Linked DNA regions of Homo sapiens: all the other regions are linked to region 3. Evidence: promoter capture Hi-C in 16 types of primary human blood cells and fetal thymus (Javierre and others, 2016). All regions are on one chromosome and are shown on one strand. The core of a region is centred on a gene start or on the middle of the fragment in contact, and the rest is flanking DNA. Distances in the headings are between cores, read along the strand shown.

Region 1 (3,546 bases), core at 686-3,185, 220 kb before region 3:
GGTCAAGGCTGAGGCCAGGGTTCACAGGGACAGAGGATCTGAGAGGGGGGCTGGCGGTGGGCAGTTTATTCCACTTCATGCAGACACTGACCCACGCACTCACGGAGCTTAAAAATAATACATCGAACCACACGGATATCATCCCCTCCTCCCCCCAGACACAGAAAGACACTTGGCTGAGTGGGATGGGGTCCGAGGGTCCAAAAGCCTCCGTCCTGGGAGAAGGCAGCAGTGTGGGCCCAGGTCGGGGGAGGGGCAGTGTCCTTTCTCCCCGGAGGAAAAGTGCAGAGCCAGGGCTAAGGCCCCAAGGCAGGGAGGCCCCCCTCTCACAGCAGATTGGCAACGGGCAGGCTGGGAAGGCGTCCTTCACAGTGGCCATCCCCTGAAGGGCCAGGCCGGGCCGGGCCCGTGGGCTGCAGCTCTTGGGAGGCTCAGGAGCATGGTGGGCAGCACCCTCTGGGTGCCGGGCACCCCAGGCTCAGTCTTGGGCACTGTCCGAGCGCCACTTGAGGGCGTGGTCCTTGTGGGCGTCGGGGACAATCTGGTTGCGCATGCCCCCGAGCAGGCTGGACGTGGCCTCCGTGGCCAGGATGAGCGGCTTCACCACAGTCGGGGGCAGCTGGCGGATCACGCCCCCCACGGCGCCCGTCAGCCCCTTCTGCTCATGGCCCCGCGATGCCACGTCACAGATGGTCTGAGCTGTATCCAAGATGCCCTGTGGAAGCCAGAGGTCAGGGCGGGGTCTGTGTGAGGAGATGGGCATGGGGGACTGGGGCAGGGCGGGGGCCTGGTCACCTCTCGCACTGTGTCGTAGGCCTTGGCCACACCCTCCCGCAGGTCGGCAGGCTGCTGGCCCCTGCGCAGCCTCCGCGCAGAGCGCTTATCCTGCAGGGAGCGGGAGACGGGGGCTGCCGGGGACAGGATGTCATACACGGTCTCAGCTGTGGCCTGGGGGACATGGGAGCACTGGATGAGGACAGCTGGCTGGGGCACACGTCAGCCCCAGGCCCCCAGGACAGTCTGAGACCCCACCAGCCCTCAGCCTCCCTGCCTGTCACTGTGCTGGCCTAGGGGGTCCTGCTCAGCCTCACTCCCCACTTCCTCCCACTCTTCCTCCCCTTCCTAGGCACCTGCCACTCTGCTGAGGGAACCTAGGAACGTGGGACTCCTCAGGGGACTTTCCTAAAGTCTTCTCAACCCAAACCTCTCTTCCTGCTGACCACCACATTCAGCAGGTTCCACATGGCTGCCGCAGCTGCACGCCTGAGACTGACCGCTCCTTGCCTGGCCCCCCAGACGCCCCTGCCAGATGGTCAGAGGCCCATCCTTCCTTCTGTCTGCCAGATCCTCTGCCCAGCATCTCACCTGGCATCACTCTTTCCCACCTGACTGAACACTCCCGGGGGCTCCCTGGTGCCCATGCATCCCTCCCACCTCCCCTGGAGCCCTGCCCTCTGTCCTGTTGGGGTCTGAGCTTGCAGGTTCCAGAATGCACCATGCACCTGCACTCACCCCTTAGCCGCCTAGGACCATCGATCCCCTACAGAATTCATCTGACAACTGCCCACGAGACTGGCTCCCCAGCTTCCCTGGGGTCCTTCTGGCCTAGCGAAGCGTATGGCCTGAATGAACCAGGGCAGCCTCTGCGCCTCAGATTCTTAGTCTGCAAACACAGCCGTCCTCCACCCCCCTTTACAAGACATGCCATGAGCAGGAGACACAGTGGGCTCTGAAGGCCTGGGGGGCACTCCCGCTCCTGCATGGGAGCCCCTGTGGGCCTCGGGAGACCTGGCTTGGAGGTCCCAGGCAAGTCACTTAGCCTCTCCGTGGCTGTTTCTCTATAAAGTAGGGCTGTCATACCCAGACTGCCCACTCTGAGGAGCTTTGAGGACAGAACCAGGGAGCTGTGGTGCAGAGGGCTCCAGCTGCTCTGTCCTGCACAGCCCAGATACAGGGCACCCACTCACCTGGATAGCCTGTACCAACCGGTTGCTGAGTTCCAGGGCGGCAGAGGCTGTGGATGAGCCAAAGGAGGCAGCCCCTCGCTGCAGCCCCCGCATGAGGCGGCCATCCTTCCTGTACTGCTCAATGGGCAGCCACAGCAGGTCCCGGAACCCTTGGACTAGGGGGAAGGAGCGCTCAGAGACACCCGAGGCTGCCCTGCCCCCACCTCCTCCTCTTATTCCCAATGGCAGCTTCTAGGTTGCCCAAGGGTAAAAGCAGTTTCGAGGGCTTCCAAACCTAGACACTCACAGAGCTGGACAACCGAGTGCATGGGGCCCACGCCTCCCAGCAGGCCGGGCAGCTGGTTCTTGCGGATGTCCTGCAGCCACTCGTTGAGGGCATAGCCCAGCACCTTGTCCACACCCAGGAGCCTGGCAGGGCAGGGAGGTGAGGAGGCAGAAGGTGAGGCAGAGCCACACATGGAGGGATTGTGGGGTCAGGAGGACTCAGTACCCCTGTGGCAAGTACTGTGGGCACTCTACCCTCCCTGTGGTCCCACCCAGTCATGTGCAGAGGGACTGTGTCCTTTTTTTTTTTTTTTAGATGGAGTCTTGCTCCGTTGCCCAGGCTGGAGTGAAGTGGTGCGATCTTGGCTCACTGCAACCGCCTCCCAGGTTCAAGCAGTTCTCCTGCCTCAGCCTCCTGAGTAGCTGGGATTACATGTGTATGCCACCACGCCTGGCTAATTTTTGTATTTTTAGTAGAGACGGGGGGGTTTCACCATGTTGGTCAGGCTGGTCTCGAATGCCTGAATGTGTGAGCCATCATGCCCAGCCAACTGCGTCCTTTTTACAGAGGAGAAACTGAGGCCCTGAGAAGGGTGATGACTTGGCCAAGGCCACACAACCAGTCAGGACCAGAACAGAAGGAAGATCAGGGACCCTGGAGAGAGGCTGGGGTGCTGGGGACTCACCCGTGCCTGCAACAGAGCCGCTTTAGCTTCAGCTCGGAGCAGTTGAGTTGGGCCAGGCCGATGAGGAGGCCAGCAAAAGTGCCCTGGGAGAGGGAGGGGGTCCAGGTTTACCCAATGGGACTCAGGGAGCTAGCTAGCCCATGGGAGCCACTGGAGAGCGCCCTGGCTGCTAACAGTGCCTGGATGCAAGACCTGGCCCCCAGAGGGACTCAGCCACAGCTGACCCCACATGGCCACCCCATCCGACCGCCCCACTTACCACCTGGTCCATCGTGACGTGCTTGCCATGGTAATCCAGCCAGATGGGGACCTCAGACGTGAAGCGGAACTCTCTGGGTAGGGGAGCAGGAAGAGGGGGTTCTTTGCTCACTGGCCTGGCCCCCAGCAATCTGGCCCAGGGCCCCCCACCCGCAGTCCAGCAGCCTACCTGAAGTAGATGGGCTGCTGGTCAGGAGGGGAGGGGCTGTGTCCACCTCCTGGGGCCTCCTGCGAACCAGTGGTCTCTACGCCTTCGGCCTGCCCTTCCAGGGGGCTGCTGGGCTGGGCTCGAGTCTCGGGGCGAGCTAGGGGAGGGGAGGTCACAGACTGGGGATGGGGCCAGGAATGACTGGGAACCTGTGCTGTCCTGG
Region 2 (3,508 bases), core at 425-2,924, 200 kb before region 3:
GCGGGGCCTGCAGGCTGAGCTGGGAGGGAGGAGGGGCTGGTTATCAAGAAAGCGCCTGCATTCCACCAGGGCCCTAGAGAAGCCAATTCAATCCCCAACAAGAGGGCAGGGAACAGGAGTAGGGGCGTTTTCTGGAGCTGAAAGTAAAAAGGGGAAGCCTAGGGCTGGGTATGGTGGTTCATGCCTATAATCTCAGCACTTTGGGAGGCTGAGGTGGGAGGATCCCTTCAGGGGTTCAAGGCTAGCCTGGGCAACATAGCGAAATCCTGTCTCTATAAAAATAAAAAAGGGGCAGCCTAGAGACGGCCTTAGAGGCTGAGGCTAAGGTTAGAGGTCAGAGAGGGCTTCCTACACCAGAATTCACAGACAGCAGGCCACTGGGGGGTGCCCCCAGTTCAGGGCCCACGATTATCCTACCCCACATTTGCTCACCAGGGCCTGGCCTACCCCCAAAGCCTAGCTCTTCTGCCCAGATTAGCAGCCCCCTGAGTCCAGCCACAAAACTGAGAAGTCCCTGCCTCCATGCCCACCCCTGCTGCTCTGGACCTGGTGGATCGACCAGGACGCGCCTCTAATTGGTGGCTCCTTCAAAGCTCCCCAGGTCAGCTGAGCTGTGAGTCAGGGCTCCTCACCGTTCCCAGCCTCAAGCCTCTGACCTTACACCTCTTGGCCTCCCTAGCATCTCCCTTGGCCTCCTCCCGGCTTGAAGCCAGATCTCCCCACCTTTCCTCCAGGGCCTCCCTCCAGGCAGGGACACTGAGCCGGGGGGGTCGGTGGGAGATGTAGGTGGGGGCCATCCAGTCCCTCCCTAGACACCCACTTGGCCCATCCCACTCTCCCAAAAGCAGGAAGTAGGCAGCGACCCAGGCACACGAGGTGTTGATCAACACTGGTACTGACGTACTGACGCGGTTGTTGACATACACATCCGGTGGTTTGTTGATCCCACCTACGGGCTCAGGACCGTGGGGTCAAGAGGTCAGGGCACATGATCCACAGGTGTCCTCGCCAGGGCTCCGGACCCCTACCAGCTTCCCCCACCAGCTGCGCAGGCCCAAGTCTGTCACTGCCCTGGCCCAGCTCAGTTCCTACGCTCCCTCCCCAGCCCCTCCTCAGCCCGAGAGCCAACCTCCTTAACTCAGCCCCCAAACTCGACGAGTTTGTCTTGCATTCTCCAGACAGGTGATCTTGCCCTCTCCAGCCTCAGTTTCTCCTCCCGTGGAGACAGAAACCCCTTCCCGCTCAGTTTCTGGCTCTGGTAAGGAACTGAAGAGGCCAGCCGGGGTGCCTCTGACGCCTGGAGAGGGCAAGATTCCCCTGGCCTCTCTACGCCCGGTGCCTGATCCCCCAGCCCGATCCTGCCGCAGGGAGCCTCAGGTCGCTGCGCTCCCACCCTCCGCACCTTCCTGGACTCGGGCCTGGCTCCTCACCCAGATTTCCAGGTGGATGTCTCGCAGGGCAACGCTGCCCTTGTACAGATCGAGGCTGAGCTGGTCCAGGCTGAGGTGCTCTTGGAAGAAGTGACCTAAGTAGTGGTGCAGCAAGTAGCGGCAGACCCGCTCTTTCACACAGTTTGACCATGGCCACAGCCATCGTGACATCTCGGAGACCGCCGGGCCTGGGCCGCCTCCGCTTGCCGCCCGCCGGCGATCCCCGTCCGGCTCCGCTGTTCACTAGAGCCCCCGGCTCGCCCCGCCGCTTCTCTAGGCGCCAGGCCGCGCCTCCGGACGCCCAGCCACGCCCCCTACGCTCACTGTCATTGGCTATTGCAAAGGGCGAGGCCTACTGATTGGCTGCGCGGGGCGGAGCCTTCGGGCGCGAAAAAGGGACTGGGCTCTCTGCATGATATAGGGCTCTCAATCATGATTTACGCTTGCGTAAAGTACTGTGTGGGAGGACCTTTAACCTCCCCTCTACAGGCTCTGGGAAGGCTGTTGCTCCAGGTGCCGGCCCCTCAAAGGAATGCGCATGTGCTGATTCGTCCAACCACTTTAAGTGGTTGGGGAGGATTTAAAGGGACAGTGTCCCATCAAACTTCGTAGAAGCCTTCCCCAGAGGAGTAAACTCAGTGCGCGATCTTAAGCGCGCATCTGTGGAAACAATTAAGTGAGTAAACATTCGCATTTTGCAAAATCTTTTACCATCCTTTATCTCATTGAGCCCTCTTAATAATCGCTCAAGGTAGGGATTATTGCCACCGCTTTACAGGTAAGAAAACAGATTAAGATACGAGAAAGACCCTGCCTCAAAAACAAACAAAAATAAATAAGGGCTCTGAATCCATCACCAAGGAAGGTCTTTTTTCCCCTCCTCACCCCGGAATGCTCAGAGGGAGATTAACTGACCCTCCCTTCTCTCTGCCGTCGGTCAGGCCTTAGGCACCTCTCTGAAATAATAATAGCTTTTCATATCTCTAGTCCTAAAATCAAAGAATGGATTCTGCCTCCTTTAAGCAGGGGGGCATTGTTTTTGTACGGCCTTTGAGCTAAGTATGGTTTTTATGTCTTTTAAATGGTTAGGGGAAAAATCAAAAGAAGAATGAACTTTTCATGGCATGTGAAAAATCATATGAAATTCACATTCCAGTGTTTATACATAACGTTTTAGTGTCACACAGTCTTGCTCATTTGCTTAAGTTCTGCCCCGGGCTGCTTTCTTGCTACAAGAGCAGAATTCAGTACTTGAGACAGAGGCCTGCAAAGCCTAAAATATTTATTTTCTGGCCCTTCACAGAAAAAGTTTGCCAACCGCTGCTCTGTAGGGGGCAGCCACACAAAACCTCTTACATCATGGGCGACTTCAGGAACAGCCATAGGTAATTATGTTTCTTTTCTTTTCTTTTTGAGACAGACTCTCTCTGTCACCTAGGCTGGAGTGCAGTGGCACAATCTTGGCTCACTGCAACCTCTGCCTCCTGGGTTCAAATGATTCTGCTGCCTTGGCCTCCCAGAGTAGCTGGGATTACAGGCATGCACCACCGCACCCAGCTAATTACCGTGTTGGGCAGGCTGGTCTCGAACTCCTGACCTTAGGTGATCAGCCTGCCTTGGCCTCCCAAAGTGTTGGGATTACAGGCACGAGCCACCGTGCCCGGCCTATGTTTCTATTTTATTTATTTTTTTTGAGACAGAGTCTTGCTCTGTTGCCCAGGCTGGAGTGCAGTGGTGCAGTCTCCTCTCACGCAACCTCTGGCTCCTGGGTTCAAGGAATTCCTGAGTAGCTGGGATTACAGGTGTGAGCTACCCCACCTAGCCTGTGTTTCTATTTTAATCTTACTTGGGAGCTGGACTCTTACATTCTAATGCCAAAACTCAGCCTGAAGCAAGGGCAACCGCCCTGGCCCACCGGGCAGGGACCTGTATTCCAGTCCCACCCATGGGTGGTTTCTTCTCCTCTTGTGACCCTCAGTTTTATCCTATGTAACTGGGGTTGGGTTAGTAAGTGGAGATAGTTCATTACCTGGAAGGAGCAGGCTCCATTCAGGGAGGCAGGCTGATAGGACAGCCAT
Region 3 (3,248 bases), core at 628-3,127:
TGTGGAAACGTTTGTGAACTGCGGGGTGGAGGGGCCGGCAGGGTGGTCACAGAGCCTCCTTCTCTACAGGGGTGTCACACCTGCTGCCCTACTTCTACCTCCTCTACTTCACCGCGCTGCTGGTGCACCGTGAGGCCCGGGATGAGCGGCAGTGCCTGCAGAAGTACGGCCTGGCCTGGCAGGAGTACTGCCGGCGTGTGCCTTACCGCATCATGCCCTACATCTACTGAAGCGGCTCCACCACCCCAGGTGGGGGCATGTGCCCACTCATCCACCAGCACACCCAGGACCAGGAGCCTCGACACACTTGGGACTCAAGGGCTTGCACCCCACCCAGCCCTGAGGATGAACAACCTCAGAGAAGAGGTGGTTTAGAGCAAGGAAAAAAATGAAACCAGTGACCAAAATCGGAGATGCTCTTCCTCCTTTGGATAAACACTGGGAACCCTTGGTGCACTTCTCTCCCCTAGGACTGGCTGGGTCAGCACTGATCAGGGAGAAGCTGAGCAGTGGCTTGTGGGCCCAGGAATCTGGGGTCTGGTGGGACAATAGCTATCCCTCAGAAACAAGCAACAGGGCTGACCAGTCACAGCTTTATTAATGACCAGGGTAACCCGTTCAGCTAGGGAGCTCCTCAATGAGAGTTCTTGGGGCAGGTGGCACGGGGCCTCCCCAAAGCCGCTCCAGCTCCCCAGTGAGGGCGGCCACCTCCTCGGCTACCACAGCATGGGCTTGGTGAGCCCTGGCGCAGTCTAGGGCCAGGGGTGTGAGGGCCGCCTCATTTTCGTTGGTCCAGGCCAGGAGGAACTGGCACTTTTTCCGGGCCCGGTAAAGATGATCTCGCTCTTCTCTAGCCACGGCCTGTTTCCGGGCACGGCCCAGGGTCTGTGCCAGGTCCCCCAGTGCTGCCAGCGTGTAGCCTTTCTGGTTGGTCGGGCCCTCGCCCAGCAGGATGCGGGCGACCTCGTGCATAGCCCCTCGTGTGCCCAGGGGCCCCGGCGGGTGCTCGCCTGCTTCCAGCACGTGGGCTGCCGCCTGCAGGGCTTCTTCCGCAGAGGCGAAGACTTGCTGGGCACCCAGGGCTCCGGAAACGCCGAGCAGTGTGGCACAGAAGTCAGAGAGCAGCGCGTCGTCACCGCCGTGATACAGGGCGAGAGTATGCGCGTAGGCGAACAGCACATTGGGCAGCTGGAAGCGCACGAGCGGCGAGACTGGGCCGCGGCTCAGGCTGACTATCGCGGGGATGCGGGTGGGTACGACGGGCGTGCAGGCCCCCGGGACATCTCCAAGAACCCGCTCGGCGGCCGCGGGCTCCGCGGCGGAGGCATCTTTCACAGAATCCGGCGGGGTCCTCGCAGGGGCGAGCTCCAGCTCCGCGGCGTCACTACCCGGGGCATTATCCAGCTCCTCCAGAAGCTGCGGTCCGGCTCCGCGGTTCCACCACCACGGCCGCCATGGAGGCAGCAGCCGCCCGGCCTCACCGCGGCTCAGCAGCCGCTCGAAGGCAGCTTTTTCGCCCGGCGCCAGCCGCTCCCAGAGTCCCGATAGGCCGCCGGGCGCCGGGCCGGAGCTGAGGCCTGCTTCCCCAGGCTCGTCCTCGGTCTCGCGTTGCTGACGCAGCCGGCGTAGGGCGCTTGCTAGGCGGCTGGGAGGAGCGCTGCAACCGCGGAGCTCTCCCAGCACCTGGTCACGGTAGAAGTTTTCTGCGCAGGTGCCATGCGTCCGGTAGCAGCGCAGCGAGCAGTAGGGCGCATTACAGCGAGGGCAGGTGTAACGCGCTGGCTGGACCTCCCCCGCCGGGCAGAAGCCACAGGGCCCGGCCGGCTCCATGGCAACTGGCACCGCGATCTACCTGCGAACGCACGCCGGTGGTAGTTCGAAACTTCCGGGGCTTCTTCGATTACTTCCGGTTCGCAGCGCGGCCGACGGCGCGCTGTGTTTTCGCAAAGCTTCCGAGGATTCTCGGCAATTTCCGCCCACGCCCGAAAGCCAAGCCCCACCCCTTTCCCTAGTAGGGCGAGAGCAGGCCCAGAAGCCGGGCGTCAGGTACGAGCCCCGCCCTATGCGATGACGCAAGGAGCGAAAAAATGGGTCTGGCGAGCGCTTCGCCGGTGCCACGTCTCCCCCTAGTGGTCACACCAAAACGTGGCCCGATCATCTAAAGAGAAAACCCTCTTTTTAGCACTACAATGTGCTGTGGCATAAATCCATCTTTACTAGGCACCTACTCTGGGCCACTAATTGTGCCAAGCCTACGGGAGGCGATGCATCCCTGCGCTGGACACAGACAAATAAAATGCACTAGGGGACACAGACAAATAAAAGGACAGTTAGGGCCAGGTACGGTGGGTCACGCCGGTAATCCCAGCATTTTGGGAGGCCGAGGCGGGCAGATGACCTGAGGTCAGGAGTTTGAGACCAGCCTGACCAACATGGAGAAACCCCGTCTCTACTAAGAATACAAAATTAGCCGGGCGTGGGGGACGGGTGCTTGTAGTCCCAGCTACTCCTGAGGCTGAGGCAGGGGAATCGCTTGAACCCGGGAGGTGGAGGCTGCAGTTAGCCGAGATCGCGCCACCGCTCTCCAGCCTGCGAGCCTGGGCCACAGAGAGAAACTCCACCTCAAAAAGATAAATAGAAAGCAGCATTTAAGAAATATCTGAGCTCCTATGATTTTTTTCCTCCAAAACTGCCTCTTCTTTTCATTAAGTATCTTCTCATTAAATACCACTATTCATCCATCTTATTAAGTGCAGGCCCCATTCTAGGTGCCAAGAACACAATGCACATCAAAGGGAGCCGGGGGTCCCTGTTCTAATAGAGCTCACTCTTGTGGTGGAGTGGGGGGTGTGATGAACCAAACTGTGAGTGTTCTTTGCATCCCTGCTACTACTGGTGGTCTAAGCTTCCTGACCCCTCATGTGGATGACAACACATTAAGTGTTTTTCCTAACTTTCTTGCCAGCCCTCCAGAAAAACCTGCCAGAGAAATTAGATCACAAGTCAGATGAGATCCATCTGTTACTCAAAACCCTTCTGCGACCCTCCATTGCACTTGGACTCAAACCCAAACTCCTCTCTATGGCTGACAAGGCCTTGCAGGATCTGCCCGCCCCCAGCCCTAGACATCACCTCTTCCCCATCTTCACACAGTCCTCTAGGCTTGAAATATTCCCCTACCTGATCACTTGACTGGTTCATCTCAGGTCTCACTCACGTCATTTAAACAGGACCTCTCGGCTGGGCAC

The links. The method cuts DNA at HindIII sites, captures the fragments that hold promoters and counts their contacts. A CHiCAGO score of 5 or more calls a contact.
Region 1: a fragment that was not itself captured here is called in contact with the fragment with the promoter of ZNHIT2 in region 3 in 1 of 17 cell types (M0 macrophages); the score reaches 6.4 in M0 macrophages.
Region 2: a contact is called between the fragment with the promoter of ATG2A here and the fragment with the promoter of ZNHIT2 in region 3, in 1 of 17 cell types (endothelial precursors). The highest score is 5.8, in endothelial precursors.

Annotation. Positions count from the first base shown.
Region 1 is chr11:64,894,495-64,898,040 of GRCh38, forward strand. ATG2A (autophagy related 2A) reads right to left here. Exons shown (of 41, transcript NM_015104.3): 35 at 3,345-3,480; 36 at 3,177-3,249; 37 at 2,918-3,000; 38 at 2,254-2,375; 39 at 1,968-2,122; 40 at 796-948; 41 at 52-715. The coding sequence ends at 479. Among named protein-coding and RNA genes, the nearest start is that of MIR6750, 2.2 kb to the right of the region's middle. The HindIII fragment of the contact is 4,812 bases long and covers 1-3,546 here.
Region 2 is chr11:64,915,535-64,919,042 of GRCh38, forward strand. It overlaps ATG2A (autophagy related 2A), which reads right to left and starts at 1,675. Exons shown (of 41, transcript NM_015104.3): 1 at 1,431-1,675. The coding sequence starts at 1,601. It also overlaps a transcript of PPP2R5B not described here. RefSeq lists a silencer at 1,587-1,896 and an enhancer at 1,947-2,076. The HindIII fragment of the contact is 25,686 bases long and covers 1-3,508 here.
Region 3 is chr11:65,115,824-65,119,071 of GRCh38, forward strand. It overlaps ZNHIT2 (zinc finger HIT-type containing 2), which reads right to left and starts at 1,878. Exons shown (of 1, transcript NM_014205.4): 1 at 580-1,878. The coding sequence starts at 1,830. The coding sequence ends at 619. It overlaps TM7SF2 (transmembrane 7 superfamily member 2), which reads left to right. Exons shown (of 10, transcript NM_003273.6): 10 at 70-407. The coding sequence ends at 230. RefSeq lists enhancers at 1-206, 207-751, 1,298-1,841, 1,834-2,128. The HindIII fragment of the contact is 3,565 bases long and covers 1-1,947 here.